Linked DNA regions of Homo sapiens: regions 1, 2, 3, 4 and 5 are each linked to region 6. The links are contacts of gene promoters, found by promoter capture Hi-C in blood cells and fetal thymus (Javierre and others, 2016). All regions are on one chromosome and are shown on one strand. Each heading gives the region's core, a stretch centred on a gene start or on the middle of the fragment in contact. The rest is flanking DNA. Distances are from core to core; before and after follow the strand shown.

Evidence for each region. Contacts are between HindIII fragments. The CHiCAGO score rates a contact against its expected background, and 5 or more counts as called.
Region 1: a contact is called between a fragment that was not itself captured here and the fragment with the promoter of POLI in region 6, in 1 of 17 cell types (naive CD8 T cells). The highest score is 5.9, in naive CD8 T cells.
Region 2: a contact is called between a fragment that was not itself captured here and the fragment with the promoter of POLI in region 6, in 2 of 17 cell types (non-activated CD4 T cells and activated CD4 T cells). The highest score is 10.7, in non-activated CD4 T cells.
Region 3: a contact is called between a fragment that was not itself captured here and the fragment with the promoter of POLI in region 6, in 3 of 17 cell types (total CD4 T cells, total CD8 T cells and naive CD8 T cells). The highest score is 8.9, in total CD4 T cells.
Region 4: a contact is called between the fragment with the promoter of ELAC1 here and the fragment with the promoter of POLI in region 6, in 1 of 17 cell types (non-activated CD4 T cells). The highest score is 7.3, in non-activated CD4 T cells.
Region 5: a fragment that was not itself captured here is called in contact with the fragment with the promoter of POLI in region 6 in 1 of 17 cell types (non-activated CD4 T cells); the score reaches 6.0 in non-activated CD4 T cells.

What each region holds. Positions count from the first base shown.
Region 1 is chr18:50,872,556-50,875,255 of GRCh38, reverse strand. No RefSeq gene overlaps it. Among named protein-coding and RNA genes, the nearest start is that of ME2, 5.2 kb to the left of the region's middle. The HindIII fragment of the contact is 2,517 bases long and covers 105-2,621 here.
Region 2 is chr18:51,023,094-51,025,822 of GRCh38, reverse strand. All of the region lies in intron 1 of LOC107985152 (a long non-coding RNA gene), which reads left to right. Among named protein-coding and RNA genes, the nearest start is that of SMAD4, 5.8 kb to the left of the region's middle. The HindIII fragment of the contact is 2,488 bases long and covers 143-2,630 here.
Region 3 is chr18:51,041,084-51,043,824 of GRCh38, reverse strand. The region is part of intron 1 of SMAD4 (SMAD family member 4); the gene reads right to left. Among named protein-coding and RNA genes, the nearest start is that of SMAD4, 12 kb to the right of the region's middle. The HindIII fragment of the contact is 1,251 bases long and covers 750-2,000 here.
Region 4 is chr18:50,966,678-50,969,377 of GRCh38, reverse strand. It overlaps ELAC1 (elaC ribonuclease Z 1), which reads right to left and starts at 1,338. Exons shown (of 4, transcript NM_018696.3): 1 at 1,264-1,338. RefSeq lists a silencer at 1,011-1,500 and an enhancer at 1,651-1,710. The HindIII fragment of the contact is 7,484 bases long and covers 1-2,700 here.
Region 5 is chr18:51,157,286-51,159,997 of GRCh38, reverse strand. It overlaps the pseudogene SRSF10P1. Among named protein-coding and RNA genes, the nearest start is that of MEX3C, 39 kb to the left of the region's middle. The HindIII fragment of the contact is 6,310 bases long and covers 1-2,712 here.
Region 6 is chr18:54,268,114-54,270,813 of GRCh38, reverse strand. It overlaps POLI (DNA polymerase iota), which reads right to left and starts at 1,297. Exons shown (of 10, transcript NM_007195.3): 1 at 1,153-1,297. The coding sequence starts at 1,267. LOC124904307 (a long non-coding RNA gene) reads left to right here and starts at 909. Exons shown (of 2, transcript XR_007066379.1): 1 at 909-988. RefSeq lists enhancers at 816-865, 1,396-1,525, 1,786-1,935 and a silencer at 936-1,185. The HindIII fragment of the contact is 5,901 bases long and covers 1-2,700 here.

The sequences.
Region 1 (2,700 bases), core at 114-2,613, 3.4 Mb after region 6:
TTTCTACAGGCAAGAATTACACTGGCGGATATAACTCCTGGGTTAAATAAAGTAGTCATTACTCTGCAACTGGTTGTGAATTTTCTGCATGATCATCTTAAGCTTTGAAAAATACTGTGCTTTCTTGCATTTACCTTTTATCCCCTATCTGTCCAGCATTCTTGCTTGAATTGAGCTATTTCATCTTTAAATGATACTATTTTGGGCTGAGTGAGGTGGCTCACTCCTGTAATCCCAGCACTCTAGGAGGCCAAGGTGGGTGGATTGCTTGAGCACAGGAGTTTGAGACCAGCCTGGGCAATATGGTGAAACCTCATCTTTACAAAAAAAAAAAAAAAAAATTAGCCAGGCCTGATGGGGCATGCCTGTAGTCTTAGCTACTTGGGAGGCTGAGGTGGGAGGATCACTTGAGCCCAGGAGGCGGAGGTTGCACTGAGCTGAGGTCGCATCCCTGCACTCCAGCCTAGGTGACAGAGTGAGACCCTGTCTCCAAAAAAAAAAAGCTACTTTGATCCAGTAATAGTTATAGTGAGACACTAAGATGTCTCATCAGTTAAAAGACCAAGGGGAATTATATACATCCATAGGTCTCCAGAAATAATGTAAGTGTGTAGTTATTTTTCAAGTATAGAGTTTTTAAAAATGAATGTTAAGGTCTAATATATAGTAGGTCAGGGCACACAGAATCAAAACAGTACTATGATTATCCTTACTACTATTATTACTAATCTACTACTAGTAGTTTATACTTGACATCCTCAATTTGACCTAATAAGAGTTAATGAGCTATTCTAAAGGAGGAAATATAAATGAAGATATTACGACAGGAACAAGATTTTTGTGCATTTTAACAGTAACTGTTAGAAATGATTTTTAGCTCCCAACAACAGAAAACCCAATTAGAGTTGATTTATACAAATATGGGCTTTTTCACAAAAATGTGAGGGTAGGATTTAAGGCTAAACATGGCTCAATCACTTTCTGGATAATCCTTGAGAGAAGGAAAGAATCTCTTCTAAATGCAGGGTCTCTCCAGTAAATGAAGATAAAACCTGACAATTTTTGACTAGAACTATGGCTGAGCAAGAAATATAACTCCAAGCAGAGTATAAGTTATCCATAAATTAGACACCCCAATTATAGATAATCAGGGAATGATAGAAGGAAGGTTGTTTGGATTCCTATGGGGTGGGAGTGGAAGGCATGGAGGGGATGTTTGAAAATTATCTGGACAAATGCCTCAGTTCTTCAAATTTTTTCTTTTTGCTTTTGTTTTATTTTGTTCATTTACTTATTTACATCGAAGGAAAAAGCACACTTTGGGAGTGTGGAATACTTGAATTCTAGGGCTAGCTCTCACACTGTCTTAATAAGAGGCTGGATGTCTTTTTCTCCGGTTAGGTGGACACAATTAAACTTTCCCTATGTATCTCAAAGGGCATTGAAAAGAGGAATGAGACACAAAATATGCAAGAGTTTTGTGAATATTAAAAGGATACAGATGCAAAGTATTCTCATGCAGGCTGTCTGCCTGGCATATAGATGATGTTTGATAAATAATAATTACCATTCATTGAGTACTTACTATTTGCTAAGCGTTGCTCTAAGGCACCTAGTGTATTTTATTTATTTTTACTTTTTTTTTTCTGAGACAGGGTCTTGCTCTATTGCCCAGGCTGGAGTGCAGTGGTATGATCTTGGCTCACTGCAACCTCTGCCTCCCAGGTTCAAGCAATTCTTCTGCCTCATCCTCCTGAGTAGCTGGGATTACAGGTGTGTGACACCACACCTAGCTAATTATTGTAATTTTAGTAGAGACAGGGTTTTGCCATGTTGGCCAGGCTGGTCTTGAACTCCTGACCTCAGGTGATCCACCCTTGGCCTCCCAAAGTGCTAGGATTGCAGGCATGAGCCACTGTACCCCGCCCACCTCATGTATATATTAAAATTATTTAATTATCCTAACAACGCTATCAAGTAGGTATAATTATTTCTGTTTCTTTCTTTATTTTATTTTAGAGATGGGGTTGGGGTCTTGCCATGTTGCCCAGGCTGGTCTTGAACTCCTGAACTCAACGAATCCTCCCATCTTGGCCTCCCAACGTATTGGGATTACTGGCATGAGCCACCGTGCCACTCCTGTTTTTGTCGTTGTTGTTGTTCAAGATAGGGTATTGCTCTGTCACCCACGCTGGAGTGCAGTGCCAATTGTAGCTCATTGCAGCCTTGATCTCCCAGGGTCAAGCAATCCTCCTGCCTCAGCCTCCCAAGTAGCTGGGACTACTGGCATGTACCACCACAACCAGCTAATGTTTTTTATTTTTAGTAGAGACAAGGTCTTGCTATGTTGTTCAGGCTGCTCCTGAACTCTTGATCTCAAGCTATTCTCCCACCTTGACCTCCCAGAGTGCTGAGATTACAGGCATGAGCCACTGTGCCCAGCTGGTAGGTATAATTATTATCCCCATTTTACATATGGGAAAACTGAGGACTTAGAGGTTGATTCATCCAAGGGTACCACTAATAAGTGGAAAGAGGATACAAACTACACTGTACAGACTGAATATTTTAAAATATGTTTATGTACAGTTCAGTGTCTTGGAAAGATTTGAAAGTAAGCTTGGAGCATTATGTCACCCCACTCCCCAACCTGGGAAAGACTTCCCCGCTGTAAGCTGTCAATTAAAAACTGCTTCGTAA
Region 2 (2,729 bases), core at 137-2,636, 3.2 Mb after region 6:
GTGCTCCTAGCTAAAGGAGTATTGTCACCAAGACATAGATTCCAGTACTATCTTGCCTAATCAAGATCCTCACTGTCACTCCAGCAATTATCCGCCTATTCTGTTTTATCAGTATTTCTCTACTGGGTCATTCTGATAAGCTTACAAGCAGCTGTGATTTTTCCAATCCTACAGATTCTTCTCTTTGACCTATTTCTACTGTCAGCTATCACCTATTTCTCTACTCCCTTTACAACAAAACTTCTAAAAGAGTTTTCTATACTTTGTCTGCAGTTCTTCTCCCATTCTGCAACAGCAGAATACATCCCATACAATACCATTTATACAAAGTTCAAAAACATGTCAAGCATGATACGTATGTTAAGACTCCATACATATGTAGTAGAATCATTACATGCGAGGTACACATGTGGCGTATTTTAGGTCATCAGCTGAGTGTTAGGTTTCCCATCCTCTCTTAAACTCCATTCATGCTTTCATCCTTACTACCGTATCAAAACCACTCTTGTGAAGGCCAACAAGGAACTTCACATTGGCTAAACCCAATGATCTAGTCTCGGTTCTCATCTTATCTGTAACAGCTGACACAGCTCATCACTTGATTCTCTTTTTTTAACCACATCCTCTTGGTTTTCCTCCTTCATTCGTGGTTCCTCCTTCCCTGTCTTCTTTGCTGGGTTCCATCTCTTCTCTCAGACCCCTTAACTGGGGCTTATTCCCTGAACTCTTTATTTTTTTGAGACAGAGTCTCTCTCTGTCACCCAGGCTGGAGTGCAGTGGCATGATCTCGGCTCACTGCAACCTCTGCCTCCCAGATTCAAGCAATTCTCCCTGCCTCAGCCTCCCAGGTAGCTGGGATTACAGGCGCCCACCACCACACCTGGCTAGTTTTTGTATTTTTCCGTAGACAGGGTTTCGCCTTGCTGGCCAGGCTGGTCTTGAACTCCTGACCTCAAGTGATCTGCCTGCGTCAGCCTCCCAAAGGGCTGGGATTACAGGCATGAGCCACTGCACCTGGTCCCTTGAACTCTTTTTAATCTATACTCATTTCCGTGATCTCATCCAGTCTCCTGACTTTCAGTACCATCTAAGATATATAATATCATCATATATGATGACAACTCTTAAATTTATATCTCCAGCTCGGATCTCTTACCTGAACTCCAGATTCTGATATCCTCAAACATGTCACAAACTGAGCAATATTCTCCCTCAAACCTGTTGAACCCACTAGCTTTCCAATCTCATTTGATAACTCTATTGTTCAAGTTGTTCAGACCAAAAACCCTGAGCAGTTTCACTTTAATTTCATCACCATGAACCTCAAGTAAATCCTTAGTGCTGTCCAGCAATTCTGGATTCCCCTCGTTTTCTCACACCCATGTCTAATCCACAGAGCATCCCTAACCACCTCCACTGCTGCTCCCTGGTCTGAGCCACCATCATCTCATCTTTGGATTCATCTTCTAAAAGCTCTCCCTGTTCTCATGCTTGCCTCTTCCCAACATAATAGCTAGAGAGATCCTTTTAAAATAGAAGTCAGGGCCAGGCACAGTGGCTCACGCCTATAATCCCAGCACTTTGGGAGGCCAAGGCGGGCAGATCACGAGGTCAGGAGATTGAGACCATCCTGGCTAACCCGGTGAAACCCTGTCTCTACTAAAAATTACAAAAAAATTAGCCGGGCGTGGTGGCGGGCGCCTGTAGTCCCAGCTACTCGGGAGGCTGAGGCAGGAAAATGGCGTGAACCCAGGAGGCGGAGCTTACAGTGAGTGGAGATCGCGCCACTGCACTCCAGCCTGGGTGACAGAGCAAGACTCCGTCTCAAAAAAAAAAAAAAAAAAGTCAGACATCTGCACTCTGCTTAAATCCCTGCATTAAATGATCCTCATTTCATTTAGAGTAAAAATCTACATCCTTACAATAGTCTAAAGGGTTCTATAAGATCAGCATCACCACTCCACCCTGAGCATTACTTCTCTAATCTCATTTCCTATCAGTCATTCTCCAATATGTCCTAACCTTCCCGACCTCTTTTCTTGTCCCTAGAAGATGCCAGCCATGCTCCCAAGTTAGGGCCTCTGCACTGGCTGTGCCCTCTGCCTTGTACATGTTTCCCCCAGATATCTGCATTGCCAACTCTCTCACCTCCTTTGGTCAAAAGTTACCTCATTGAAGCCTATCTTGACCTTTTAAAAATCACAGCCCATTCTTAACTCTCACAGTACACCCAAAGCCCCTTTACCCTGCTTTCTGTTTTACTATAGCACTTCTGACATACTATATGATTTACTTATGTGTTGTGTTTATTGTTTATTGCCTATTACCCCCCGCTAGAATGTAAGCTCCATGAGGGCAAGGATTTATCTGTAGTGTTTACCAGTGTATCCCAAGTGCCTAGAGTAGCTATTGACACGTAGGAGGTGCTCAATAAATATTTGTTGAATGAATGAACAAGGTGTTTGTGCTTCTATCCATAGAAGTGAAAACTAGGATTAGGTTTGACCCAATTCTATTTCATTCAGCAAAAATATCCTTTAATTTTAATAGATACCAAAATATGTAATATTTTATGTTGTTTAGATCAATTAGATATTAAAATTATACAATCAAAATGAGCTTTTTAAGCTTATCAGACTCAGTCAAGAATTTTTTTAAAAAAATTTTTTTGTAGGGAAATATGATAGGTTGATCAATAAAAGACTCTCCAGCTTAAAATATTATATTAA
Region 3 (2,741 bases), core at 126-2,625, 3.2 Mb after region 6:
AAAGATGTGTATGAATCTACAATGCAATTAAAATGTTTAAGTGTTAACTATTTCACCACAATCTCACCATCAAATGTCATCATTTCTAAAATTTATGCTATGCTGGGGCCTTAACGGTATCTCAAAGTTTGTTTTAATACCAAGTTGCTTTGAATACAAATGATAATGACCTCGCTTTCTTAAACAAACAGCTTTCTCATCTCTCTCTTTATTGTATTCCTATGACCACAAGTGCCTGAAACATAATTAAAAGTTATGCATATAAAAAATAATACTAGCAGGAATAAAGAGATGTATTCCTACATTAAATGGTTCTAGATTATGGAAGTATGGTAGGCAAGAGCATAATATCGATATAAATAAAATTATATATTCTAATTAAAGGTCTAGCCGCATGACTGAATGTTAACATCTCTCTCAATTCTCTCATCTATAAAATGGAAACACCTGCCCTGACAACTTCACAAATTTATTGTGGTAATTAGATGCAACAACGTACATAAAAGAAATGTGGGAAACATAAATTGACCAATTCAACAAACACTGTATATACAAAGCACTACAGATACAAAAACAGGAAGCCCATAGTAAGAAAGTGGGTCTGGACTCTCTCAGACCAACATCCCATTTTTTTTCCAACAAATAATTTATATCACCACCTTAGCTTTACTGAAACAAAATTCTAAACTACTTAAACATATTTTGAAAATTTAACAATGCCCTAACTATAACAAAAAGGAGGAAAAGCTTAATATATAATGTGTACTTCCACCTATAAATACTCAGGCATGCCAACTAAGTTAGAATGTATAATAAAGAAGTTAGATGCTAGCACTTATATACAGAATCATTACAAATGTGACAGCTACAAATTCAGACCTTCCAAGACAAACGTGTTATACTGGCAACTCAAATAGCACAATGGCACTGCAGTCAGTAACATGGATTTTCCCAAATGGTGAACTCTTAAACAACTTGAACTAAGAAAATGAATTAACAAGAGGCTGGGGCAGGAGGACTGCTTGAGCCCAGGAGACCAAGGCTACGGTGAGCTATGACTGAGCCACTGCACTCCAGCCCAAGTGACAGAGTAAGATTTGGTCTCAAAAATAAAAAACAAAACAACCAAGTCCGGGTACAGTGGCTCATGCCTGTAATCCCAGCACTTTAAGAGGCCGACATGGTTGGATCACTTAAGCTCAGGACCAGCCTGGCAACAAAGGCACGGTTGCCAGGACCAGCCTGGCAACAAAGTGAGACCTCCTCTCTACAAAAAATACAAAAAATTAGTGGGGCATGGTGGCACATGCCTATAGTCCCAGCTACTCAGAAGGCTGAGGTGGGAGGACGGCTTGAGCCTGGGAGGCAGAGGTTGCAGTGAGCCAAGATCACGCCACTGCACTCCAGCCTGGGTAACAGAGCCTGAAGTAAGGGAGGGAGGCAGGGAGGGAGGAAGGAAAAAGAAAGAAAACAGAGAGAAAGAGAGAGGGAGAGAGGGAGGGAGGGAGGGAGGGAGGGAGGGAAGGAGGGAGGGAGGCAGGCAGGCAAGAAAAAAATGAATTAAAAGAAATTTAACTCCTGGCAAAGTGAATATATATTATAGAGTTAGGTTCTGGGCTAATTATATTTTCCTCCTACATGAATTTCTGGGGCATCTGAAAGTCTTGTGGGATGCAAGATAATTATTCGCTGTCTCTCACATTGCAGGATGGCATCCCTGGCCACCAATCCACCAAACCCATCCACAAATTTCTACAACATCCCTTAAAGAGCAGTACTTACTCCACTGAGAACTACTAATCTGGAAGACCCAAACATATTATTACATAAGTAATAAATGCTAAAAGAAGTAGGTATAAAGTGATTTGGGACTATAAATGAGGGAGCATGGAAAGTTCATAGGTAACCTAGGTCTTGGCACAACGTATCAGTCAGGATTGGCTAGTCTATGCTGCAGTGACAACCAACCCCCAAAAGATCAGTAGCTTAAAACAAAAGCTTATTTTCTGCTTAGGATATAATACACATTCATCACAGATCAACTGGGGGCACTGCTGTCATCGCTCAGAAATTAGACTGACAAAGGCTCCATTTCTACATATGTCCTTAAATGGCAGGAGAAGGGATAGGACAGCTCATATATCTTCTTTTAAAGGCTACCACTTCTGCTCATGTTTGACTGGCCAAAGTCATAAGGCCATGCCAGGAGTTCTCAACCAGGGGCAACTTTGTCCCTCAGGGGACACTTGGCAACATCTGGAGGCAATATATGGTCACAACTGGATACTACTGGGCATCTGGTGGCTAAAGGCCATGGTTGCTGCTAAATACCCTGCAATGCACTGGACAACACGCAAAATAAATTATCCAGCCTAAAATGTCAACAGTGCCAATGCAAGAAACTCTGGGCCATGCCTAATTTCAAGGTAGGGATGAGGGAGACAAAGAAGCACAATACTACCATGTGCCAGGGGACAGCCATCAGAATATTGGTAGAATAGTATTAATGGATTACCACATACGAATAAGAATTTGCCAGGCTGAAGGAAAATGATGAGGAAAAGCAGAGACGGATAAGAGCTTTGTCTAGAGTAGGTTCATGGTAGAAAGAGGAGAAAAAACAGCATTAGATTTGTATTAGAAAACTTCAGTGAGAGCCTGGAGAACAGCTTTGGAAAAGGAAATAGAAAACCAGTTAGGAAACAATTACCAGAAAAGCGGTAAGATCCTAGACTGGGGCA
Region 4 (2,700 bases), core at 89-2,588, 3.3 Mb after region 6:
GAACAAGTCTGCAGGTCTAAATACCTGCTTATTAAAGGATACCAGAGATGGAAAAAGCAAAATCCTGGTTGTAGAAAACGTGAACCGTACAAATGACTTGTTCAAGTAAAATACAGGGAACAAAATAAAGAGCAAGAGAAAAAGATTAAGAGAGATCTAAGAGACATCAACCAAATATAACGTGTGTAGATTGTTTGGATACTGATTTGGACAAACTGGGTAAGAGGAAAGAGACAACTAGGAAAATGTAAATGCTGACTGGATAGTAGAGGGTAAAATGAAGTGCTAAGTACACTGATAATGGCTTTATGTTTTAAAAAGGTGTTATTGTGTTTTATAAACATGAACAAGGTAACAGATGGAATGGTACATTTCAGATTTGCTTCAAAATACTACAGTGGGGGAGAGGGTAACAGATGAAACAGAATTGATCATGAATTGGGAGTTCAGTTACTATTCAATTTTCATATATGACTTGAAGGTTTCCATAATAATTTTAAAACAAATATAATGAAAACCCTCCAAATAGGTCGGGAAGTAATCAGAAATTATTTAATCAATGGTGCATGTTTTGGGACATGCACCATTCTAGGCACTAGGAATTAAATGCGAGCAAACCAGATTAGGTCCCTGTCTTCTTGGAAAAAAAACAAAACAAAAACCCAGCTGCTTGCTTTCTCAAGACTGTGATCCACGTTCGGCGAAGTGCATATTCCAGTCGTGATCACAGTACTGTCATTTCACTCTGGGCCCGTGGATCTCGGTCCTGGCCGCAGATCACAATTCCCCGGTGATGATGGGGCATCAGCATTTGGAGGCTTCCCAAGCGATTCTACTGGTTGCCGGGTTGAGAACCGGCGCTCCTTCGTTTTCAGGCAGGCAGTGTCAACCCTGCAATCACCCTGTGGTGTGCCTAGGGCAGATATCGCTGTCCTCCATCTTAGAGCTGAAAGAACCGAGGCCGGGCGGCAGAGAGTAAGAGGCCAAGGCACAGGCAGGGCCAGAGGCCAGATTTCCGGCCTCCAGAGAGCCCAGGCTCCCCCACGAGACCGTGTTGGCCTCGAAAAAGGCTGGGTGGGCGGCGGCGCCGGGCGGCCGAGGCTCCGGCCCGCCGAGACTCCGGCCCGGGGCGGTGAACGAGGCGCGTCCTCGCTCCCGGGCGCTCCCCAGGCTTAGGTCCCCAGCGCCGGGCCGTGCCTGATCGAGCCGGCGAGTCCCGAGGAAGCGCGCCCGCCCCCCTCTGGTATGCCCTACCGCACTCACCCTCTCCCCGAGGCCCGCGCCAGGAGCCGAGGGAGGCGCAGGCCCGCACCCTGGCCCAGCTGTCCGCGGGGCTACAATGCGCCCGGGCGGAAGTGCGCCGCCGGCCGGGTCCCGCGCGGCCGCTCTAGGATGCGAGGGAGGTCCGCGCTCGGTGGCGCCCGCGCGGGACCTGGCTCTGGGCGCGCTTCCGGGCTCCCCCCGGGCCGCGAGGGCAGTGATTGAGTTTCCCTCTTTCCCAGGTCGCTGTGTGTCAGGTGGTAGCTATCGCCCTGAGGACCAGAGCGGGATAAACCAAAAGGGAAAAAGTTACTCTTCTTTTGTTTTCCGTGTAATATTTTCCACATAAGAGTGTTCTTCCTGATGTTTTGCTCATACATATGTGTCATTTTTGGTCTTTGGTTGGGATGAATCTTTACTGTCTTTCATCCACTAAGATCCTTTGCCTGACCATGCACCTTCATAAAGCCCCGTCCATATTCCATTTTCCTACTCTAGGTTGGAATATTTGCTTAACATCTGAAGCTGATTGTGCCATACTCACTCCAAGCCTTGGTGTTCTCTTAGGTAGCGGACGTGGGATTGAAAAACCCAGGCTGGCTGTATACAGAACGGGCACGTGGCGATTACAGACCACAGGGAAAAACTCCTTCAGTTTGAATAACAACTTTTAAAAAAAGTATTTCAAGCTCCTGTGTACTGCCAGATGCACTGATTTCGTGCTCAGCGTACTTGAGGTGGTCAAAATATCCAGCAGCTGGCCGGGCGCCGTGGCTCACACCTGTAATCCCATCACTTTGGGAGGCCAAGACGAGCGGATTGCCTGAGCTCAGGAGTTCGAGACCAACCTGGCCAACATGGCAAACCTCGTCTCTACTAAAAATACAAAAAAAAAAAAAAATTAGCCGGTCATGGTGGCACACGCCTGTAGTCCCAGCTACTCGGGAGGCTGAGGCATGAGAATCGCTTGAACCCAGGAGGTGCAGGTTGCGGTGAGCCAAGATCGCACCACTGCATTCCAGCCTGGGCGACAGAGCGAGACTCTGTTAAAAAAAAAAAAAAAAAAAAAAAAAAAAATCCAGCAGCTTCAAAATAGGAATCGGAGTGGTGTTTCTTGAAACTACCAGGACAGAGAGACTGCCACTTGTTTAAAAATCATTAACTCATCTACTTCTACTTATTGGGCTCTTTTAACCTTTATTCCAGTATTAATGGAGCTCTGACTTTGTGGATAGTATTATTTTTGGGGCTGAGAGATTTTAAAAATTTGTCATGGTCCCTGGTTTTGGGTTTTTGTTTGTTTGTTTGTTTGTGACAGGGTCTCACTCTATCACCCAGGTTGGAGCGCAGTGGCGCGATCTCAGCTCACTGCAACCTCTTCCTCCTGGACTCAACCAATCCTCCCACCTCGGCCTCCCAAGTATCAGTAGCTGGGACTAC
Region 5 (2,712 bases), core at 72-2,571, 3.1 Mb after region 6:
GCAGACAAGAGCCTTCAGCTACCAAGACCCACCCTTCTTAGAAGGCAGGAAGAGAATTAGAAATAATAAGGTCTTTTTCTTGAGATTTGAAGTCAAAAGCTAGCTAGCGGCTGCATAGGGAATCCAGCTCAGCTCTCTCTGACATCAGAGCCTGAGGCTTCCAAGCCTGTGCCCTCGGCAGTGAGGCTGGTAGGTGGGATCACAAACCCCTCCTCCTCCCCGTCCCTGCCCTCTGCATCCCTGCTCGCCGCTCGCTAACACTGCTTCTAGTTTCTAGAGGCAGTTGCAGAGCCAAGTTTAAGGCTAAGGAGTCCAAAGGAGTCCGGCACTGAGGGTGAATTTCAGGCATGTGGCAGGCTGTGGGGAGAGATCATCAGTCTTCAGGTGACAGCCTTGTCTCCACCTGTGAGCAAGGTTGACAAGGGCAGAGGTAGCCTCACTGCCTTCAGCTTGTCTTCATTCAGGCTGTGGTCATTTCTATAGACTAGTGGTACCCAGACCATCAGCATGATCATCATCTAGGAACTTGTTAGAAATACGAATTTCTAACAGCAGAGCTATGGACAGTTTGCCTGGTCTGTTAGGGCCTCCGGCCTGGACTCACGCCACCATCATGTCCCACTACCTGCACACTCCTCCAAAACATGTCTCTGTCCATCAGGAACGTGGCCAATGACACCAGGTCTGCAGATAGACAGGATAAATTTGGTCATGATGGTCCTACAGGAAATGTTTATGTTCCACTTGATTTCCACACCCACCGTCCAAGAGGATTTGCTTGTGTTCAATTTGAGGATGTTTGTGATGCTGAAGATGCTTTGCATAATTTGGACAGGAAATAGATTTGTGGACATCAAGTTGAAATACAGTTTACACAGGGGGATCAGAAGACACCAAATCAGATGAAATCCAAGGAACAGAGGAATGTGTACAGCTCTTCACGCCATGATGGTTATGACAGATACAGAAGTTCTAGAAGCCAAAGTTATGAAAGGAGATCCAGAAGTCAGTCTTTTGATTACAATTATAGAAGATCTTACAGTCCTAGAAATCAACCAACTGGAAAACCACGGAGTAGCAGAAGCCATTCCGACAATGGTGGATTCAAACACCAAAATCCATCTTTTTCAAGATCTACATCTCATTCAAGGCAGCCCAAGGAAGAAGTGAAGGCTAAATCACATTCTAGGTCTGCATCTCACACCAGAACTAGAGGCACCTCTAAAACAGATTCCATGCTGGGTGCAGTGACTCACACCTTTAATCCCAGCAGTTTGAGAGGCTGAGGCTGGAAGATCACTTGAGCTCAGGAGTTTGAAACCAGCCTGGGCAATATGGCAAAATGCCATCTCTACAAAAAAAAAAAAAAAAAAAAAAAAAAAATTAGCCAGGCATGGTGGTGCATGCCTGTAGTCCCAGCTACTTGGGAGGCTGAGGTGGGAGGATTGCTTGAGACTGGGAGGTCAAGGCTGCAGTGAGCCTTGATTGTGCCACTACACTCCAGCCTGGGTGACAAAGCAAGACCCTGTCTCAAAAAGTAAGTAAAAATAAATAAATAAATAAGATTCCAAAGCATATTAAATAAGTCTGGCTCAAGATATGAAAAGGAATCAAAGAAAAAAAACTACTTATATCCAAATGTCAGTCAAGATCAAAGTCTAGTTCTAGATCAAAATCTACATCAAGGTATTGGACTGCTCCTAAATCCAATGGCCACTGATAATATAAACTATGGTTGTTTTTAGGCACATATCATTCATTTATTTATAGTTTGGTTTACTTAAATTATCAGGAATTGGCCAGGCATGGTGGCTCACCCTATAATCCTAGCACTTTGGGAGGCTGAGGTGGGCAGATCTCTTGAGCCCGGGAGTTTGGGACCAGCTTGGGCAACATGGTGAAACCCCTATCTCTACCAAAAATTAAAATATTAGCTGGGCATGGTGGTGTGCGCCTGTAGTACCAGATACTTGGGGCTGAAACAGGAGTATTGCTTGAGCCAAGGAGATCGAGGCTACAGTGAACCGAGATCACACCACTGCACTCCAGCCTGGGTGACAAAGTTAGACCCTGTCTCAAAAAAAAAAAAAAATCAGGAATACAATGTTGTAACAATACTTTAAAAACACTGTACCAGGCAATGGTAATAATTCAAATGATATGCTGTGGAGAAGCCACTTTTAAGAGTCAGTTTGTAACCCCGTCTCTACTAAACAAAATACAAAAATTAACCAGGTGTGGTGGCGGGCGCCTGTAGTCCCAGCTACTTGGGAGGCTGAGGCAGGAGAATGGCATGAACCCGGGTGGTGGAGCTTGCAGTGAGCCAAGATCGCAGCACCGCACTCCAGACTGGGAGACAGAGTGAGACTCCATCTCAAAAAAAAAAAAGAAGAGTCCAGTTTGTTTAATGTTATAGGTAACCACCAATTTGTGGTGTCCCTGTATATTTTTGTAAAGATTCTTTTTTTTGTGTTTGAAGTTTGTGGCAAAAAGATGTTGGTTGACCATAATTTGCAACATTTTTTTTTAAAAAAAAACAGGCTGTCTTGCTTTGTCACCCAGGCTAGAGTGCAGTGATGCAATCAAAGGTCATTGCAACCTCTAATTCTTGGGCTCAAGTGATCCTCCCACCACAACATCTCAAGTAGTTTGACTACAGGTGCACGCCACCATTCTTGGCTCATTTTAAAATTTTTTGTAGAGATGGGGTCT
Region 6 (2,700 bases), core at 48-2,547:
AACAGACCACCAATAAATATTCACTAAATTGAAAGACTGAATAGTTCTTTGATTTTAAAAAGTTGTTAGGTCATTATTTGTCGGGGAGGGAATGACAGAGGCGACTCCTTCTCTCAACACTGGCTAAAAACAAGACAGGCAAAATACAATACAATATTCTGGTTGGGATCCTGGAACAGAAAATGAACGTTAGCAGAAAAACTGGTAGAATATTAATAAAGCGTGTAGTTCAATTAATAGTATTATACCAATGTTAATTTCCTAGTTTTGACAAATGTACTGAGTTTATGTTAACACTAGGGGGATCTAGCTCTGCAACTTTCAGGTAAACCTAAAGTTCCAAAATTTAAAAGGCCAGGCACGATGGCTAACTACTGTAATCCCAATACTTTTCGAAGCTGAGGTGGAAGGATCGCTTGTGGCTGGAGTTTGAGACCAGCCTGGACAACACAGCTACACCTGATCTAAAAAAATCTGAAAATCAGCCAGGTGTGGTGGCACGTGCCTGCTGTCCCAGCTACTCGGGACGGAGAGGCTGGGGCGGAGGATCACTTGAGCCCAGGGGTTCGAGGCTGCAGGGAGACCTTGTCTCTAAATTAATGAATGAAACAAAACCAGCAGGAAATGAGAACCGGTGCCTTTACATCCAGGCCCTGAGGTGGGCGGTACAAGGTAAAGACCAGAGCTGGAAGTGGGTCACCGGAGACGTGACCACAGCGGACCTGACTCCGCCTAGGTTCTGAGCCATCCCTTCCTGCCAGGACTGAGATCCGGGTCCCACCTTCTGCCAAATGAGCGACAAGGTCCTCAACTTCTCCAAAGTTAAAAGGCCCAGAAGCCTCTGCAGTTTTCGTCGGGCTGGCTGAGGGATTCCCGCCCCACCTCGCCCCTCACAGAGGAAAGGACGGCGCAGATAAACCCTCGACACGTATTTGTAGTGTGGACGCGCCCCACCCTACTCCTGCTGGGTGAAGCCATTCCTCTAGAGGTACCCGCCGCGTAACACAAGGCAGAGGGAGGCAGCCCTCTCTTAGAGGAGCCGAGTGGGGCGGGGACGGTCGCGCCCCAGTGGCCGCCGCCCCGAGCGTCCGCCTGCCCCACCCTTCTCATTTACACCCAAGGAGGCCGCTGGCTCCTCTGGCTGCGGCGCACCCTGCGAGCTGGCTGCCGCCCCCACGTCCGCCAGTTCCATGGCCCAGGCCTCGGCGTCTTCCTCGTCGTCGTCGCCGCCGCCTTCCTCCTCCGGCTCCACCCCCAGCTTCTCCATCCCGCCGCTGCCAACCGCAGCGCTACTTCCGGCCGCTTCCGCCTGGTCTCCAGGGAAACCGGGGGACTACAGTCTCCAGTCGCTCTGTGCCTCTCGCCTGCGCAGTCGTGGCCGACCAGCCTGTTGCCCAGAGTGACACGCATGCCAAGGAATCGTGGAGGCCCACGTGCGGGAGTTTTTTCCCGCCGGGTGGAGGCCGGAAGCGGAGAGATTGAAAGCACAAATGGCTATTTTTTTTTTTTTTGAGACGGAGTTTCGTTCTTGTTGCTCAGGCTGGAGTGGGCAACAGTGACGCAATACCGGCTCACTGCAACCTCTGCCTCCCGGATTCAAGCGATTCTCCTGCCTCAGCCTCCCAAGTAGCTGGGATTAACAGGCATGCGCCATCACGCCCAGCTAATTTTTTTGTATTTAGTAGAGACGAGGTTTCACCATGTTGGTCAGGCTGGTTTCGAACTCCTGTCCTCAGGTGATCCACCCTCCTAGGCCTCCCAAAGTGTTGAGATCACAGGCATGAGCCACTGCGCCTGGCCTTTTTTTTTTTTTCTTGAAGGCTTTGGAGTTAGGCCCACATCACAAATTTTAGCGTTTTGTCTTTGTTCCATTCGGCTGTTAGCAAACTTGCAAATCCCTAGACCTGAGTGATTAATGTGATGGGGTGGGAAGGAGTGTAACTGATAGTAAAGACACAGGTGGCCTTGTAAACTCATATGATTAGCAACTATGTTAAGGTTTGCTGTGTTTTGTTTGTTGTTGTTTTATTTAAAGACACTGTGACGAATTCAACCACAGAATTTTTAACATCAAAACTGAATAGGATTTGATACATGAGTGTTGTAGTCAGACAAAATCTCCAATCCAGACCCTCCATCATGCTGTGTGACTTTGGGCAGGTTACATAACTGCTGTGAGCCTCAGTTGCTCTACTCTTAAAAAAAAAAAAAAGTATTGAGATTGAATGAATGGATAAAAGCTACCATATACTGTAATATCCTAATGTATATAAAACATGTGGCACATAGGAAGTGCTCAGTAAATGTCTATTCTCCTTGCCTTCTATTAGGATACCATGTGTGCATGTGTGTGTTGGTGTGTGTATGTGTATGTTTTACAATAGAGGAAATTTGGAAATTCCTCCATGCCTGTATGTATGTATATACACTATATCTGTATAAATACCCAAATTAACACATATGTTTGGTTTTTTATATGATTCTACTTCTTATCAAATAAAATATTAGAACCTTGAGAAACCCTTTAAAGCAGCCATTCCCAACCTTTTTGGCACCAGGGGCTGGTTTCATGGAAGACAATTTTTCCACAGACAGAAGGGAGGGGGATGGTTTTGGGATGATCCAAGTGCGTTACATTTGTTGTGCACTTTATTTCTATTATTATTACATTTTAATAGATAATGAGGTAGAATCAGTGGG